Linked DNA regions of Homo sapiens: regions 1, 3, 4, 5 and 6 are each linked to region 2. Evidence: promoter capture Hi-C in 16 types of primary human blood cells and fetal thymus (Javierre and others, 2016). All regions are on one chromosome and are shown on one strand. The core of a region is centred on a gene start or on the middle of the fragment in contact, and the rest is flanking DNA. Distances in the headings are between cores, read along the strand shown.

Region 1 (2,906 bases), core at 54-2,553, 1.1 Mb before region 2:
CCCATTCCACAGAACCCGCTGCTACATATTCATCCTAAAGTATTGCCAATCTCTTGTCCTTCTCTTTATCCATCCTCCTAATCTTTCTGAAGTGTAGCTGCATCCTACTTTTCCCACCCAAGTACTTTTGTGGTACAAACCTTCTCCACCAGTCAAGGTGGTTTTTTCACTGTTGCTGAACCAGTTTTGCTCAGATTTCCCTTAGACCATATAACGTCCGTATTTGAATTATTGCACTTTCCAGTTTTTTAATTCACTTATTTCTTTAATTTATTTATTGAGTTTCAGTGTTGGTATTATTGTGCTGAACAAGACAAAGTCCTGCCCTCATGTACTTTTCACTGGGGAGAGGAAAACAATAAACAGTGTACTTAATTGTGGTGAGTGCTATGAGGAGAAAGAAGTGCACTAATAGAGAATGAAAAAGGGCCCATGTTTTATAAAGTGGTCAGGAAAAGCCTTTCTGGGGAGGCGATATTTAAGCCAAGATGTGAAGAATAGGAAGAAGATTATGGTGGTAGCAAATATTTATTGAATTTTTACTCCAGGTTAGTGCTTTATACGGATTATCTCATTTGTTATTAGGACAGTGTTACAACGAGGCTTTATTATTTACCCGTTGCCGTGGATGGATTATTTGTGGGCACCCCCCCAACTCTTGTCCCCAAATTCATATGTTAAAGGTCTAATTCCTGTGTCACTTCTGCTTTATTGTATTCATCAAAACAGTCCCAGAGCCTGCTGAATTTTAAGGGGAGGGAACATAGACCTTCATGGTTGGGAAGAGTGCTGTGAGATGGGCATTCTTTGATAATACAGTTTGCCCCCAGATGTGGTGGCTCACTCCTGTAATCCCAGCACTTTGGGATGCCGAGGTGGGCAGATCACTTGAGGTCAGGAGTTTGAGACCGGCCTGACCAACATGGTTAAACCCCATCTGTACTAAAAATACAAAAAAATTATCTGGGCTTGATGGCACGCGCTTGTAGTCCTAGCTACTTGGGAAGCTTGAGGTGAGAGAATCGCTTGAACCTGGGGGGCGAAGGTTGCAGTGAGCCAAGATTGCGCTATCGCACTCCAGCCTGAGTAACAGAGCGAGACTGTCTAAAAAAAAAAAAAAAAAGAACATACAGTTTGCTATACCAAGGATGAATAAAACCTGGTCCCTCTCCTTGAAGAATGGAGACTGTAGCTGCGGAGGCCCCATGTAAGCAAATATAATTTTCTCTGCAGTAAGAATTTAACTCTAGGCTTATAGAGTTTAGGGGAAGGGAGCTGGTAATAATAGCTCACATTTTCTGAATGCTCACCTGTTGTGCCGGCCACTAAGCTCTTTGCATTATCATTTCATGCTCATAGTAACGCTTGGATAGTTACTGTTATTTCCCCCCTTTACAGAAGAGGGATTTATGATTCTTGAAGAATAATTAACTTGTACAAAGAAGGTTGTTACACATCTGGTAAATGGCAGATCTAGGAGTTAATTCAGATTCTGACACTAAAGTTAGCGTTTGTAACCATTATAACAAACTCATCCATAAACTGACCCCTTATTCTGGCTTAGAGGGATTTTCATTCTGAAAATGTATTGAAGCTTGAGGAAACCTTGGGATTAAAGGTCCTGGGCCTTTTGGGACTGTCAGCTGTTTTTGTTTTTAATCATATTTAGTAGGAAACAAGGGGGAGGGCCATGGGAAGAAAGGAAGCTCAAATTTCAAGTTTGGAATGATATGGAGTGGGCCTGATATGCCCTTCTGATAAGTTTAAATTATCTAGGCAACATGAGGCAGCCATAGACACTTTTTAAAATAGAAAAGTGACAATTAGATTCCTGTTTTAGAAAAATTATTTTGGAGCCTCAGTGGAAGACTGATTGAACTAGGGTAAAACTGGAAGCAGGGAAATCACTTCATTTCTTTTTTCTTTTTTTTTTTTTGGACACAGAATCTCACTCTGTTGCCCAGGCTGGAGTGCAGTGGCAAATGATCTCGGCTCACTGCAACCTCCCCTTCCTGGGTTCAAGTGATTCTTCTGCCTCAGCCTCCTGACTGGCTGGGGTTACAGGTGTGCACCACTATGCCTGGCTAATTTTGTATTTTTAGTAGATATAGGGTTTCTCCATTTTGGCCATGTTGGTCTTGAACTCCTGACCTAAGGTGATCGACCCACCTCGGCCTCCCAAAGTGCTAGGATTACAGGCGTAAGCCACCACGCCCAGCCAATCACTTCATTTCTTTTAGTACAAAAGAGGGGTAAATCCCTACATAATAATGATGAGATTTGACACTTTTGCTTTCTGCTTTTTTTTTAAAGTAGTAATTTGCCTGATAAAATCAATTGGTTTTGTGTTTCTTTATTGTTTCCCATTGAGTATCCCTTATCTGTACAGATTGAGTGTCCCTTATATGAAATTTCAGATTTTCTAGAGTTTTGGAATATTTTTGCATACATAATGAGATATCTTGAGGATGGAACTCAAGTTTAAACACAAAATTTATTTGTTTTATATACACCTTATACATATAGCCAGAAGATAGTTTTATGTAATTTTTTAATACTTTTGTGTATGCAGCCAAGTTTTGACTGCTTTTTGACTGTGACTCATCACATGAGGTCAAGTGTGGAGTTTTCCACTTTGTGGTGTCATGTTGGTGCTCAAAAAGTTTCAGATTTTGGAGCATTTCAGATTTTCAGATTAGGGATACTCAACTTGTGTTATAACAATAGTGATAACTACTATTTATTATGGCTTTTCTTTTTCAGTATCTATTTTGTTGGTGACTAGGGGTATTCAAATAGAAAGATGAGTCATCTCTAATTTCTACTTTCTTGGTTGGGGAAAGAATCTAACTTAGTTTATTAAAATGTGAAAGAAATACTGAGGAACTTCTTAAAAAATGATTGAT
Region 2 (2,799 bases), core at 278-2,777:
TGTGCGGAGCTGGAGTGGGCTGAGCATCCTACTCCTCACCCACCCCACCCCCAAAGGAGTCAGTACAATCCAAGTGTCTGTCCACTTCGAGTCATTTTGAAGGCAGCTTAGAAAATTAAACAGGGGCCAGAAGGAAAAGATACAACGTCACCGTCCGAGCCAAAGGGAAAGGCTGGGTTGGGGGTCTATGTGGCGGGGCCTCCCTCATAAACCAATGCCTTTCAGGTCGCAGGGATGGGTCGCCTGGGTGGTCCGGGGGCTCTGGCAGCAGGGGAACTGGGCCCTGAAGCAGTCCCTCAGCTCCCTGTTGAAGAGGAAGCACACGACGGGGTTGATGCCGGCCTGCGCGAAGGTCAGCCACACGGAGGCCGTCAGGTAGGCCTGGGGGACGGCGCCGGGCCGCACCAGGACCCGCAGGTAGCTGGCCACGACGTAGGGCCCCCAGAGGAGCAGGAAGAGCAGCGTGACGGCGTAGAACATCTTGCACAGCCTCTTCTCCGTCTTGAATTCTTCCAGCACGAGGAGGCGGCGCGCGCCGCGGCCCGGCCCTGCGGGCCGGATGCCCACAAGCGCGGGCGGCGTGGGCCCGCGGCCGAAGCCCGCCGTCCAGTTGGCGGCCGCCTGGCCGGTGGCGCCCGGGCCGTGGAAGGTCCAGTCGTGGCTGACGGCGGGCACCAGGCGCGCGGGCCGCATCTTGCGGCGGTCGTGGATGAAGAAGAGCAGGCGGAGGTAGACGAGGTGCGTGGCGCCCACCACCACGGCCAGCAGCAGCAGGAAGCCCAGCGCGCCGGGGGCGCCGTCGGGCCGCTGCTCCAGGGCGCACGGCGCGTCCTCGTCGTCGCCACCGCCGTCCAGCACTGGCGGGAAGGCCGCGGCCAGCGCCAGCGCCCAGGCGGCGCACACCAGCATGGCGGCGCACGGCCAGCCGGCCAGGCGCTCTGCATAGAAGCGGTGGTGCGCGATGGCCAGGTAGCGGGTGACGCCCACGCCCAGCAGCAGGAAGGCGGCGTGGAAGCAGAAGAGCGCGGCCAGGAAGGCGAGCAGCTTGCAGCCCAGCGCGCCCGGCGGCGCCCCCGCCGCGGCCGCCGCACGCCGCGCCGCCAGCATGACGGCCGGGAGGCAGGCGAGCGCGCGCAGCCCGTCGGCCAGGCACAGGTCGAGCAGCAGGTAGTACGGGGCGCGGTGCAGGCTGCGCTCCCGCACGATCAGCAGCGCGAACAGCACGTTGCCCGCTAGGCTCACGCACAGCAGCAGGCTGAGCGTGGCCAGCTTGAGGCCCAGGGCGGCCGCCTCGCCGCCGCCGCTGCCACCCGGCTCGCTCGCGTTCGCCATCGCGGCCTCACCAGGCCGTGCGCTCCGCCCCGGGGCCGTCCCCTGCCTCGCCGCTCCCGCAGGCCGCCCGGCCCGAGCTCCGCCGCTCCGCCGGCCCTGGGCGAGCTCCCCGTCCTGCGGGGCTCAGCCCGCTCCCGGCCGGCCCCTCCTGGGCTCCCCGAGCCGCCGCTGTGCCGCCGCCGCCATCTCAGGAATGGTGCGCGCAGGAGGAGGCGGCCACTCCCTGCGCCCTAGGCGCCGCGGGCTTCACTGCGGACAGGGCCTCGCCACCGTCCGCAGCCCCCCGCATCCTCCTCCGTCTCCTCCTACTCCTCCGCTGCTGCCGCCGCGCCTCTTGGCTCTGCCCCCCGCCGGGCCCGCCGCCGCCGCTGCCGCCGCTGCCGCCGCCGCCGCCGCCGCCGCGGAGCCCCCTCCCCTCCGCCGGAGCGCGCAGCGCGGCCGCCGCCGCCAGCCCCGCCGAGGCATCCCGCACCGCCTGGGCCCGGCTGGGCTGGGGGCGCCTCCGCAGCAGCCGCGGGGTCGGGAGGCGGCCGGGAGGGAGGCAGGGCCCAGGACGCAAGGTGGCGACAAGTCGCGTTTGGCCCCAGGTAACGGGGGTCCGGCGGCGGCGCCCGCGCTGGGGTCACGGTGGCCGTGCGCGGGGGAGGTTGCCTGGGCTGGCAGGGTCGGGAGGCCTCAGAGGGGACAGGAATATCTGGAATGAGCCTTCTGCCCGAAAGCTGGGAGTAATTTACGATAGTAATAGTCATCGTAATCCTAAAACCGCTGATACTCAGGTGCGCACTGATGTGGGTGGCAGTGTGCTGGGGAGCTTGGCAAGCATTATCTCCCTCAACAGTAATCACGAAGTTGTTGCCATCCTTAATCCCACTTTATACCTCAGGAAGCAGAGGCTTGGAGGTCAAGGGAGTTGAGAGCCGGGAAGTAGCGGAGCTGGGATTCAAATTTCGCTTGGTCTGATTTCCAGTGCTGGACTCACAGCGACTCCGCAGCATCCCCTGCTCGCTAACTCATCCGTGATCCCGGTGAAGGACCTATATCAGGGAAAAGAAATGCAGCATTTCATCTTTAAGTGACTTGGAAGGTGAACCCTATGCCACCTTCCTCCCAGGATATCTATTTTCTGGGTAAGCCTGAAAGGGCAGCCCCTGTTATGATTCTCAGACACACCGCATTTGTCTCGCAGGACCTTGCATGTGCTGGTACCTCTGCCTGGACCAGCCCCACAACAGGCTCCCTCTCCGTAGGGCCTCCTTCTAACCCGTCTGTTTTACTCTGTATCCCTGCCCTCTAGTCATTTCCTTCTTAGCACTTATAATTTGTCATTATATACTTTCATTTCTTTTTAAAAATCATGCTCTTCTAACTAGGCTCTAAGCTCTTTGAAGGCAAGGGATCATGCCTGGTTTTTGGTACCACTGCATCCCCAGTGCTTAGCATGGTAAAGCCAGAATTAAGCAACGCATT
Region 3 (3,097 bases), core at 11-2,510, 1.0 Mb before region 2:
ACACACATACCTCTGAACTTAAAAGTTCAAAACAAAAACAAAATATAAGTGTTTATAATATAAGATACAAAGGGGAGACTCCCTTAAAAACATACCTTAATGGACAGGTATGGTGGCTCATGCCTGTAAACTCAGCACTTTGGGAGGTAAAAGTGGGAAGATCTCTTGAAGCCAGGAGTTTGAGACCAGCCTGGGCAACATAGTGAGACCTTGTTTCTAGAAAAAAAAAATGTTTTTTAAATTAGCAGGGCGTAGTTGTGTGTGCCTATAGTCCTAACTACTTGGGATCCCGAGGCAGGAGGATTGCTTGAGCCCAGGAGTTCGAGGTTACAGTGAGCTATGATCATGCCACTGCGCTGCAGCTTGGGTGACAGGGTAAGACCTTGTCTCTAACAAGAAAAGAAAAAAGAAATTACCTTAATGGCCATCCACAGGCCAAATCCATCTTGTATTGCCCTTGAGCTAACAATGCTTTTTACATTTTTAAATCGTTGAAAAAAAATAATATTTTGTTACTTGGGAAAATTATTTGAAATTCTCATTTTAGAGTCCATAAATAAAGTTTTATTGAAACACAGGCTCATTCACTTACATATTGTCTATGGCTGCTTTTGCGGTAAGATGACAGAATTGAGTAAGTGCATCAGAGATTGTCCTGCAAAGCCAAAATATTTACTTTCTATCTCTTTACAGAGAAAATTTACCACCTCTGCCTTAGGTATGTACATGGAGGTTGGAGGGGAGCCCTTTTGTAGGGAGCCGAGGTCTTTGGCTGCTTGCCATTCCAAATAGTGGCCAGCATTGAAGTAGATCATTTCAGCTATTTTCTCTCGCCTTCCCACAAGGTGAGACTTAGCTGATATAGTTGGCTCACATTAGAGTAGGCTTCTGTACATTAGGAGAAGCAAACTGAGATGCCTACTTCGCCAAGCAGGTAAATGAATAAGGATGCTAGGGTTTAAGGAAATAGAGACTAATGAGGCCTGTGTGAACTGAAGAGATACATGGCTCGACTGTAGCCTACTGTTGCTGTGTGAATATATAGTATTGCCAGTTTTAAAAAGAAGTAGAAAGTAAAATGATCTTTAAAATTTTTTTAAAGCTTAAGTATGAACAAAGAAGTAAAGTAATGTAAAATCACACTGTAAGAGCCATAGCATGTCTGAGAGCCCAGGTCAGCCTGGGAGGCCCCCAGTTTTCAGTCTCTGCTCTAAAGCAAGCTAAGTGCCAGCGTGTCTTTCTCATACCCTCTTGGACCTGCCAGTTTTAGCTGCAGTGAAGGCTTGCACCAGGTCTTTGCTCCTTCAGTCCTAGCTTGAGACTGAGTCTCAACCTGATACAGGTTCTAAGATTGGGGCAGGCAAAGGAGGTAAGAGATGTCCCGCATTGTCTAATGTAGTTAATACCAGAAAGCTTTTTTAAAAAAGTGGATCCCCTGCCTCTCTTTTGACTACTTTGTATTGTTACTCTTGTCAGCCAGAGCCTGGTCAGGGTGGAGGAGATGAGTGATAGGATTTCAGTACCTCCAGTACCACACCTCACTCTGACCCTGATAGAGTGCTTGTTAGTAGTGGGAGGAGGGATTAATAGGGAAGGAGCAAACAGCATAGACCTAATGAGTGATATATAATGGTAGTTACTAAAGAATGTGTAGGATTTAGAAAAGAAGATGTGGAGGAGCGGTATTCCCTGAGAAAGTAGAAGGCAAAAAAATCAGAAAAAGGAATATAAAAGAGTTCCATGTCCAAGAAAGGGCAAATTCCCATCTGTCTGGAGGCCAGAGGTGTGAAGGGGAATGGTAGGATAAAGGTAGAAACAGTGTGCTGGGACCGGGCTGAAAGGAGCCTGCAATGGCTTGCTGATGAGTTTGGGTCTTATTCAGGGAGGAACCACTGAAGAGTTTGGCATTGGAGCCGGTGAGAGGCTTATGAAATTAGATTCATCTGGCAGCAGCACTTAGGATAGAGTCATTGAGAAGGGTGAGGTTAGTGGGCATGGAGAAGAGAGGAGACCTATTCTTGCCTAGACCCAAGGAAGTCTGGGGACAGACAGTATGGTCTGAACTAGAGTGCTAGCCACGGCACCGAGGAGGAAGGAATATGTGGGCAGGTGCTTCACAGGTAGTGGGGCAGGGACCAGTAATGGGAGTGCCAGGGCTGATCCATACTACCCGTTGTCCTCCTTCCCTTTTCATATGTAAAGTACTTACATGTTTGTTGTCTCATTTAATTTCCATAGCAATTCTTAAGAATTTTTCTTCCAATTTATCCCTGTGGAAACAGATTCAGATTAAGTACCGAACGGTTAAGAAGTGGTACCAGAAGCAAAGCAAACTCTGGGCTGCACAGCTGGTCCACAGTGGAACTGTTGGGATTGTTACCATTTTTACTTCGTGAGAAATTAGCTAAGAACTGCATAAGATTATTTATGTGTAGCTTTTTAATGATCTTTCCTTGGCTTTTTAGAATTGGGGAACACAGTTCTAAGATCTTAATTTCATAGTCAAAATTTTCATGCATCCTTTTCATATAAATTAAACTTATATGTAGAGATAAATATCTAATCAGCTTTACTAAATTATATTTATTATCCATTGATTAAAATATAAAGAAGCATAGCTCAGTTCTACCAGTGTGCAGACCATTTAGCAGAAAGCAAACATATTCACTGAAACACAGTGAGGGTTTCAAAATGGTTTGGTTTTTCTCCTTTTTTACCTTGACATACTTATCAGTACTTGAGATCACCAAAATAAATTCATCAGTGGTAGGATTAGGTTTAGGTTTGTTTTTTCCTTTTATGAGCCATTTGAGATATCCAGTTGTCTTTCTTCCTATATACTCCTATTTCTTCTTTCCAACCTCATGCAATTTTAGTTTTTTTCATTTTGAAATAAAACTAATTTCAAAGAATTAGAACTCTATTAAGTGGTATCTGTTGGAAAAAAATGAAGTGTAATTGTTTTAATTAAAACCACAAAGGGCATTGAAATACATACTGTAATTCTTAAGATGGAAAAATTGAATAAAAATTTTACCCACAAAATTTTGAAGTTTTCTATGCCTATGGGTTTTTTAAAAGTTCAGGTTTAGGTTGC
Region 4 (2,986 bases), core at 431-2,930, 1.1 Mb before region 2:
CTTAGCAATCATATTAAACTTGCAGTTAAACCCTAATTAATCTCTTACAAGAAACTCCAGTATAGAAGAGGGGAAATCCTATTAATTTCCTAACAAAGATATCCTTAAAGACTGTATACATCCAGAAAGGGCTGTAAAGTGTTATAAGTACTTTAAAGCGACAGATTGTTGGGGTTTTTTCCCCCTAAAACTTGTCAGTACCCATTTGTACTGAGACAGAAGGGAAACAAAGGCTGACACAGCTACTTCTTGAGGTTTCGTGTCTTTTAGTTACAGTAAAGGCACCAAAGAGATTTAGTCATTATGGTCAAAAATAATTTTTCAACTCCTTTCAGGTTGAAATTAAGGAGCCCAGCAAACAAGGACGTTGCAATGGCAGTTAGAAACAACAGTTTTGAAAGGGCAGATGAAACAGACTCGCTACAAGACAAGGGGATTGTTGAAAAGCCCTCCACAACAAAGGAAATGAACTCAAATCCCTAACCTGCGGGGCGTTCCAGCAACCCTGAGGCCAAAAATAAAGCTCTCTGATGAAAAGCCTCCGCGTGTTAGGCTTTGTGTAGGGAAAGAGAGTATCAAACAGAAGGTCGAAGGTTAAGTTGTTTTTCTTGTAGGAGGACCCTTTGACCACACTCGAGCCTGAAACAGAATGAGGATCTGGAAACCCCCACTCTGTCTTTTCTGTGCCACGCATCAGTCCTTTCAAGGAGAAAACTTCTTTTTAATAAACTTAGGTCAAGTGTCCCTTCTGTTCTAAGCATGGGGGTACTCGAGGTTAAATGAGAGGCTGCCAGTCCTTGGTAAACATCTAACTTTTCCAACTCAACCATATCTAAGGTTTCGGTAAAATTCTCCAGTGAAACATGAGAATTAGATAAAACATTCTTGCACCGTGATGGCTTTTGACAAATTAAACAAAGGGTGCATGTTTGCAAGAGTGCAAAAATACGCCTTGCCTTGACAGTTAAAAAATGTAATGTACGAAACCACTTTCCTTGACACTTCAAAAAATGTACGTGATTATCAACACCGAGCTGTTAGGGGGACTCCACCAAGGTGGGTCTTCTTTTCTATCGGGTTAAGAAACAGAAGTGGGCAGCCCGTGGGTGAAACTTGGAAATCTGTCTCTCCAGCGCAAAGCCTCCCTTGGACTTGGCACGGGTGTAGGGAGCGAGACACGGGTCCGCAGATGGGATTCTGGGGTTGCCACGACTCACCTCGCCAACTTCTCCAGTCTCGCAGCGCCCCGGCGGCCCGCTCGGGGGCGCGGACGCGGGGGCCGGCGCCTCCGAACTCCCGGGCTGGCCCCGGGGAGGGCGCCCGGCCCCGGCCAGCGCGCGGGGACAGGCGCGGGGTGGCGCTGCGGGGCGGACGCGGGGCGCGCGGGCAGCGCTGGGGGCTCAGCGCGGCCAGCGCGCAGGGACAGCAGCGCCAGCAGCAGCGCGGCCAGCGCGAGCAAGAGCAGCGCCGCCGCCTTGCTGCGGAGCTTCATGGTGCGGCGCGGCGGCGGCGGCGGCCCCCAGGCGGCTCGGCCCCTCTGCGCATCGCGGCGGCGGCAGGATGAGTGCAGCAGCGCGCGGCGGTCGCCTCCTCCGCCCGCCCGCCGGGGACTGGGGTCGTGGCGGCCGGCGGGCGGCCGGCGGCGGCGGCGACGGCGAAGGAGGAGGAGAGAGAGGAGAGGAGGGGGAGGCGGTGAGAGCTGGGTTACAGGAGGAGCAGCCTGCGCCTACCGTACTGTGTGGAGTAGCCGCCCCTCCGCCCGCCCGCAGCCAGGCTCTCGGGCTTCTGGTAGCTCAGACTCAAAACCACTTCATTCATTCATTCGTTCGTTCGTTCGTTTACTTCCCCATTCACTCACACACCCATGCCATCCACTGTTCCCGCTGATTCTCTCATACCATGATTCACTTATTTGTTGATGTATTCCATGTGCTTCCTCCTTATTTATTTTATCCATCTATCCACACATTTGTGCACTTATCCACACATCCTTTCAGGCAGGAACATCTCTGTCCTGTTTGCCCAGTGCAGGGATCTGCGGGTGGTGGTGCCCAATAAATATCTGTTGAATAAACCCCTATTGCCGCCTCTGTCTTGCCACCTCCCTTTTTCCTGGAGGAGGACATATTCAACAAGGACACATGCAAAATAAGGCAAAGCGAGTAAAAGTAACACGTGATTAGTAGTTGGGGTTTCAGACTCAAAACACCAAAGTAGAACTTGGGACAGCTAGACTGGACCGAACCGATCCATGTAGTCTGAAGAAATTAGAGAATGAATTTCAAAGTTTGGATTTGAAATCTGACACTGTGCTTAACTGGCTTGGTGATCCTGAGGAAGCTGCACAACTTTCTTAAGCCTTAACTTCCTTACGTGCAAAATGGGAATGACAATACTGCTCACTACAGAGGCGTTTTGTGAGCATTAAATTAAATAATGCCTTCAAAGAAACTAGCACAGTGCCTGGCTCACAGTCGGTGCCCAATAAAAGTTCTGTAATGATTAGTTCAATAAAACATAGCTTATAATATACACATAAACACACATTTTATTTTCTTTCTGGCACAGATTTGAGATAGAGTAATAATTTCACAACACAATGTAAGAATGGCTTCTTTGGAGACTTTAACAGCTGCAATCGCCAGATGAAGGTCGTAATTTCCAGACGATTCTTCCAGGGGATCCCCAGTTACAAATCTGAAACATTAGGACACATCCTCTTATGACTCACGGTGAACTGACAGCCAGGACTCCATTAACTCTCTTTTCAGCACACCACAGAACAAAGAACACTAGTTAAGTTATAACAACGTCCCTGAGTTTTTCAGTTTTTTTTTTTTTTTTTTTTTTGGATCACTCTGTAGCCCAGGCAGGAGTGCAATGGTGCAATCTTAACTCACCGCAGCCTCCGCCTCCCGGGTTCAAGCCATTCTCCTGCCTCAGCCTCCCAAGTAGCTGGGATTACAGGCTGCGCCACCACACCCGG
Region 5 (2,969 bases), core at 322-2,821, 1.0 Mb before region 2:
CTCTAGGTGGTTTTACATTGGTATGGGAAGTTACTTCTGACAAATGGTGAAATGCTAAGTGTTAAATTAGCTGCTAATGATTAGCATGTAGAAGTTTCAAGAAACAATTGTGCGTAATTTCAAGCAAGTTAAACCTTGGATTAAAATCATTCTTGGTAAGGTGCTTATTCTGGCATGTCAAGTTGCTCTTTAGTTTTACTGTTTATTTTTAATTAAATCCACAAATTCATCCTGGATGGAAGTGGGTTTTTATCTCCATAAGAAAAGATTAGTACAAGGCAGTATCCATTCACTTGGATCCATTCAGCGTGGTTTCATATAGAAAGGATTTACTTAATGGTTCTGTACCTTATCACCAGTAGCTCAGCAGTGCCCACTGGGGACTGTTGCTCTTCATTAGACTTCTCTTACAAGAAATGTGCCAATAAATCACAGGATTACAAATGTTCCTACAGATCTAAGACTAAAATAACCTTTTATAAAGATATGAATGCTTCCTGTAACTAAGTGTATTGAAAAAACTAACAAAAGAATTATATATTTGAATGTTAAAGGTTTATGGGATATTTTTGTTGTTCTTTTTTTTTTTAATTTGTAATTTGTATCTTTTTTTTTTTTAGGTAGACTTTTTATTTTAGAATAGTTTTAGATTTGCAGAAAAATTGCAGAGATAGTACAGAGTTCCCATGTACCCTACCCAGGTTTCTCTGTTAACCTCTTATATTGGAATGATATATTTGTCACAATTAATGAACGAATATTGATGTTATTATTAACTAAAGTTTATTTAGATTTTCTTAGTTTTTACCTAATGTCCTTTTTCTCTTCTATGAGACCACATTTTGTTTTGCTTTTACTAAAGAACTGGAAATTGAGTAGTGCTCAATTTCTTGGACATTTTGGTTATTCAAGAGCTTAAATGCTATGAAAGGTAAGTGAAATATTGTTGAGATACTCAGATACCTGAGGAGCTTAATACATACAAACATTCTAATCATCATGAATCCAGACTTGGAAAAAATGGGTTTGACGTATTTGAGAATTTTTAGAAATAGAAACATAATTCATTTATCATTTTTACTTACATATGTACCATGGACATCATGATTATGATACATTGATAAAAATAGAGAAAGCTTAGGGCTGGGCATGCTGGCTCATGCCTATAATCCCATCACTTTGGGAGGCTGAAGTGGGAGGATCAGTTGAGGACAGGAGTTCGAGACCAGCTTGGGCACCATAATGAGACCGTGTCTCAACAAAGCAAAACTGGGCATGATGGCATGTGCTTGAACCCAGGAGTTCAAGGCTGTAGTGAGCCAAGATCATGCCACAGCACTCCAGCCTGAGTGACAGAGGGAGACCCCATCTCAAAAAAAAAAAAAAAAAAAGTGTATAAAAATAAATTGGGCAAGGCCTTTATAGTTTCATGTTAATTTTCTTAAGGTGGAGGAGGTTAGAGGAGAAGATGTGGAGATACATATGAACCATTTTCAGAGGTGAATAAGCGTGGAAAATACTCTACCTTTATCTAGGGAGTAGTATGTATATCAAGCCCATTTTATAGCTGTGGCTGGGTGGCTGTGTTAGAAGTCTCTGTTCTTTCTTGTTTTAGTCCCTGATACTTGGCTGTAGACTGCCCAAGTCCTTGGTTTTGGCTTGGTGGAGCCATGGCTTTTTACAGAGTAAGCAAATTGCTATTTTCCTTCATCTCCTTGTTCTTGTGTATTTTTGTACCTCAAAGCTCTTTGGAGGATTCTCTTTGGAGGGAGACCCACAGGATCAAGTGAGTTAGGGTGGTGATTGATTTAGTCAGGTTTTATAAACCAGTATTCTCTACTTCACGTAGAATTTTCACTGTGCTTGAATAGTCTTAACATCTTATTCAGAGAAAAGGCTTACATTGATTAATGTGGCATATGTGTGGTTATCATACTTAGAAAGTGCTCTGTTTAAGGAGAGCTTTGTCAAGAGCATTCTTTCAATGGAGTCACGAGAAAGCTTTTTAAAAAAGCTGACAACTTCAAGTACAATTTCCTTTTTCTTCTGTCTATTATGATTGAAACCCAATCTTTGTTATAACATAATTATCTCAGCTGAAGCCAACAGGGAGTTGCTGCCTTAATGTAAGGGGTGTGAAGTCCCCTAAATAAATAGAGGATTAATTACATTCCCAGCATGTTGCAAAGGTGATGAGATTGATTGTGATCATTTGACTTGTCCCATTTCCTGCTCTGACTACTTTCTTTAATAAATAGAAGCTGGGAAAATAATAAACAGAGCTGTGGAACATATCTTTGGGCATGGAGTGTTGGAAAAGGACCTTCTTGAGGTATATTTCTGGATTTTAAGTGATTTATATGACATTTTACAGTTTTTTTCATTGATTATTCTTGTACTGTTTCAATTTAAACAGCTTTCAAGGAAATTGTTTTTGCTTAAGAAAACATAGATATTAGCAGAGCATTGAGAGAAATTGATAAATTCTATTTTAATGGTTGGATATAAGCAAATTTCTGATCCAATTTTAGATGTTTTCATTTAGTGTGGCATTATGGAAGGTTTAAACTAAAGGAAATATTAGCTATTACATGTTTCTATTGTCCTTTTCACATAAGAGCTTTATACTTCTGTTAAGCTTAAAGTGATAAATTAGGACTTTCATGAAGTGGATCATGTTTTCTGTTTTGTGCTTGTCTTACTGTCTTTTCCTGGAGAGTTTTATAATATCCTGAAATTGTGATTTAGAGTATTTATTTATTCTCTAAATTTTCTATTGCTGTGGCTTCCTATGGAGGTCCACTTTTTCCAGGGAGTACATAAAACAATCTTTTTGGGGTATAGGAAAACTGTAATAGACCTTCTACCTATAATTATTTTTTGAGAATGAAATTAAGCTTCATAAATATTTTATACAGGGATTGATGGCAAAAATGATTTTTAGTGGCTACTTACCATACCTTTTTTTT
Region 6 (3,185 bases), core at 444-2,943, 1.1 Mb before region 2:
AGTCAGGAACAAGAAAATCATGCTACATTAGGTAAGAAACTCAAATTCGGCTAATTTGTTTCATTTTAAAATCTCATGGTGTACCACGTTTACTGCCTTCCATATTATTAAGCGTATAGTTGTAATTGCCTTATAATGTTAAAATATGAGTTTGAATTGCTAATTTTGGAAATGACTTCTTTGCCCCTGACTGGAAAATGCCGCTAAATAATTAGGCTTATTTGTGTTGGAAAATTCTTTTGAAGTATGGTTTCCTTTAGAATCATTGGAGTTCTTTTATAATTAATTATTTTTTAAAACCTAAATTTAGGGATATTATCACACAGGACATTTGTAGTTTCTCAATAACCTGCTTAAGAGGTATGAACATTCTTCTTTGGTAAGGACATTTGAGTATTAGTAACGGGCGGGGGGAAGACCCAAGTGGGAAAAGACCTAGATGGACATGTTATTACCAGCTTCTCTAAGTGCAGTGTAGCATTGATATATTAAGACTATACATTAGAAATATAACATTTGCAGACAGATCAAGAAGAGAACACCCATGTTTTCTGTCACACTGATTTGGCTTTTATTTACATATTAAAAATAAAATTTCAATGTTTAAATGGAAAGAATACATATATATGTACATTCTGAAGAGTATTAAATGGAATATAGACTCTTCCCACCCCAAGTTCTTCTTCCCGGAAGTAATCACTATTAGCAATTTTGGGGATATTTTAAAAATATATATTCCCACATCTAAACAGTCGCTTTAAGAAATGTCTACACATAGACTCACGTATACCCGGTTTGTACCTTGTTTTCAATTTGTAGTGTGTGTTGCACATCTTCCATATTAGTATGTAGAGATCTACCTGAAGCTTTTCATGATTACATAGTATCCGGTTGGATATTTTTTTCATGATTGATGGATATTTGGGCTGTTTACTACTGGTGGACATTTGGGTGACTTCCTGTTTTCTGCAGTTGCAAATAGTATATATAGTGGCCTTCTTTGACCACTCATTCTGAAGTAGCTACAGGGTCTCTAATGCATCACAGTTTTTTATTTTCTGCATATCAATGCAATAGCCTGTTATCTGCTATTTTTTCAGTGTCTAGTATAGTGCCTGTTATATAAAGGTACTCAGTAAATATCTATAAATATTGTAATAAATGTTTTTATGGTTAAGTTTTATTAAAGTTTAGGTGAGTTCTACCAGATCAAAAAATTGCTACTATAATATTTTAGAAAATAGAGGATTAGCTTTATTGCATAACAGAAGCTCATTATAGTGACTCTTTTTTTTTTTTTTTTTTTGAGACGGAGTCTTGCTCTGTCGCCCAGGCTGGAGTGCAGTGGCACAATGTCGGCTTACTGCAAGCTCTGCCTCCCGGTTTCACGCCATTCTCCTACCTCAGCCTCCCAAGTAGCTGGGACTACAGGCACCGGCCACCGCGCCTGGCTAATTTTTTGTGTTTTTACTAGAGACGGGGTTTCACCCTGTTAGCCAGGATGGTCTCGATCTCCTGACCTTGTGATCCGCCAGCCTCGGCCTCCCAAAGTGCTGGGATTACAGGTGTGAGCTCCCGCGCCCGGCCTATAGTGACTCTTTGTTATAGATTTATTGTCGTTTTCAACAAATCCTGACTTTTATATTTGAGTTTAAGCAGCTTTCAGAGACTTCTCACATTATGTATATATAGACAAATTTTCAGGTTTAGGATTGCTAACAGAATATAGATAGTTAATTGTACATGCTAGGTAGATCTGATCATGAAGTTTGAACAAACTTAAATCATCAAGTGTGTCAACTGGTTTGAGTCAGTTTCCCTAATTTTAGCACGGTATTTTAATGAGGTGGTGTGGGAGAAAATTGATGGTTGCGTAGTTGAGTTTTCTGTCCACCAGGGTGAGCTAGTTGCCCTAAAAATCAAGAGAAGGCGTTCCCTTTGATTTAAATTCTAACTTGCTCTACTTTGATAAACTGTAGCTTGTTCTCAGTCCAGTTTTCTGTGTCAGCAATGCTCTTAGTCTTCTTTGTGTAATTTTAGCAGGAGATCAAGCCACTCAGTCCTTTTAACCACCTGCCCTCCTGACCCTTCATCTGACCCATGACTGATAGCCAGGCTGGTGCATCAGGAACAGTCATAGTCTGCAAAGCCATTATGGTGATTCATTCTAAAAACCACCTTTAAAAATAGCAAGGACATGTGATCTAAGGTAGACGAACTTGAGCTTTGTGTCGAACAGCGTGTCTCTTCTAATAATACCAAATGTAAGATATAAACTAAATGTAGGCTTGGGGTTGGACTTCTTGTTCCACCACATGCCTGCGATATGATCTTGCACCTTTGGGTTGCTGTGGAATGCTGTACCTACCTCAGAGTTGTCCTGAGATTGAATGAAACGATGTATTTAAAATCCTGTAAATGTTAGAAATTATTATTGTAGAGTAAAATCAGTCACAGGAGAGCCAGGAGTTGGATGGTTTCTCTGTGAAATTACAATTTTTATACATTTAGAAAGCTTTAAGGGAAAGTTCCTTGTTAACAAGATTTCTCTCTCATTTGAAAAATCCTGGTTCAAATATTTGGGGCACTCAGAATTGGAGGAATAAATTGAAGTGTGTTGAGCCAGGATAAAATATGGGGGAAAAGAAATAAACCAAGAAATAAACATCACAGTTTTCTGCTGAACTATGGTGCATGCTGCTGTACCTTTTCTCCTCTTCCTCTTTGTTCTTTGCCTCTCTGGCCTTCTTCCTCTTTGTGTCATAGCGTGGGCTGTTGTCTGTTTAACACCTCCTCATCAGGTGTCGCCAGGCAGATACAACAGTGCAGGTGAGGGGTGTACCTTTGATTCATTCTGTATCATAAAATATTAACCTAGATTGCTTTGAATTCCAGATAAGCCTTAGGTGGTGAACTTTGCTCCCTCTTTTTCTCCCTTGGTTGTAATTCTTGTCGTTTTCATCACAGCCCTGAGTTACAACAGGGAGACTTTTCTCCAGCTTTGTAGTGATCCAGATTTTCCTCCCCAAAGGCTTGTAAATGGAAGTGTTAAACGCCGTGCTTCCCCTGAGCTCTGGTTTCATGAGGATGAACTCACCGCATTTCCCATGTTGTCTTTCAGTGGTTAATCTGAAGCTCCAGAGTCTTGGCACGTTATTGCTTGTTATGACACCACGTAACATTTA

What was found. The method cuts DNA at HindIII sites, captures the fragments that hold promoters and counts their contacts. A CHiCAGO score of 5 or more calls a contact.
Region 1: a contact is called between a fragment that was not itself captured here and the fragment with the promoter of GPR27 in region 2, in 1 of 17 cell types (naive B cells). The highest score is 5.0, in naive B cells.
Region 3: a contact is called between a fragment that was not itself captured here and the fragment with the promoter of GPR27 in region 2, in 1 of 17 cell types (naive B cells). The highest score is 6.2, in naive B cells.
Region 4: the fragment with the promoter of GXYLT2 here is called in contact with the fragment with the promoter of GPR27 in region 2 in 7 of 17 cell types (naive B cells, total B cells, erythroblasts and 4 more); the score reaches 11.9 in naive B cells.
Region 5: a contact is called between a fragment that was not itself captured here and the fragment with the promoter of GPR27 in region 2, in 1 of 17 cell types (total B cells). The highest score is 6.2, in total B cells.
Region 6: a contact is called between a fragment that was not itself captured here and the fragment with the promoter of GPR27 in region 2, in 6 of 17 cell types (naive B cells, monocytes, total B cells and 3 more). The highest score is 8.4, in naive B cells.

The regions. Positions count from the first base shown.
Region 1 is chr3:72,844,516-72,847,421 of GRCh38, reverse strand. The region is part of intron 1 of SHQ1 (SHQ1, H/ACA ribonucleoprotein assembly factor); the gene reads left to right. Among named protein-coding and RNA genes, the nearest start is that of SHQ1, 2.5 kb to the left of the region's middle. The HindIII fragment of the contact is 587 bases long and covers 1,010-1,596 here.
Region 2 is chr3:71,752,583-71,755,381 of GRCh38, reverse strand. GPR27 (G protein-coupled receptor 27) reads right to left here and starts at 1,527. Exons shown (of 1, transcript NM_018971.3): 1 at 1-1,527. The coding sequence starts at 1,332. The coding sequence ends at 205. It also overlaps a transcript of EIF4E3 not described here. The HindIII fragment of the contact is 6,251 bases long and covers 1-2,799 here.
Region 3 is chr3:72,801,228-72,804,324 of GRCh38, reverse strand. All of the region lies in intron 9 of SHQ1 (SHQ1, H/ACA ribonucleoprotein assembly factor), which reads left to right. Among named protein-coding and RNA genes, the nearest start is that of SHQ1, 46 kb to the left of the region's middle. The HindIII fragment of the contact is 311 bases long and covers 1,105-1,415 here.
Region 4 is chr3:72,886,740-72,889,725 of GRCh38, reverse strand. GXYLT2 (glucoside xylosyltransferase 2) reads right to left here and starts at 1,680. Exons shown (of 7, transcript NM_001080393.2): 1 at 1,218-1,680. The coding sequence starts at 1,492. RefSeq lists silencers at 1,181-1,310, 1,411-1,640. The HindIII fragment of the contact is 7,571 bases long and covers 1-2,986 here.
Region 5 is chr3:72,781,786-72,784,754 of GRCh38, reverse strand. The region is part of intron 10 of SHQ1 (SHQ1, H/ACA ribonucleoprotein assembly factor); the gene reads left to right. Among named protein-coding and RNA genes, the nearest start is that of SHQ1, 65 kb to the left of the region's middle. The HindIII fragment of the contact is 865 bases long and covers 1,139-2,003 here.
Region 6 is chr3:72,821,270-72,824,454 of GRCh38, reverse strand. SHQ1 (SHQ1, H/ACA ribonucleoprotein assembly factor) reads left to right here. Exons shown (of 11, transcript NM_018130.3): 6 at 1-31. Among named protein-coding and RNA genes, the nearest start is that of SHQ1, 26 kb to the left of the region's middle. RefSeq lists enhancers at 1,859-2,138, 2,159-2,208. The HindIII fragment of the contact is 1,649 bases long and covers 869-2,517 here.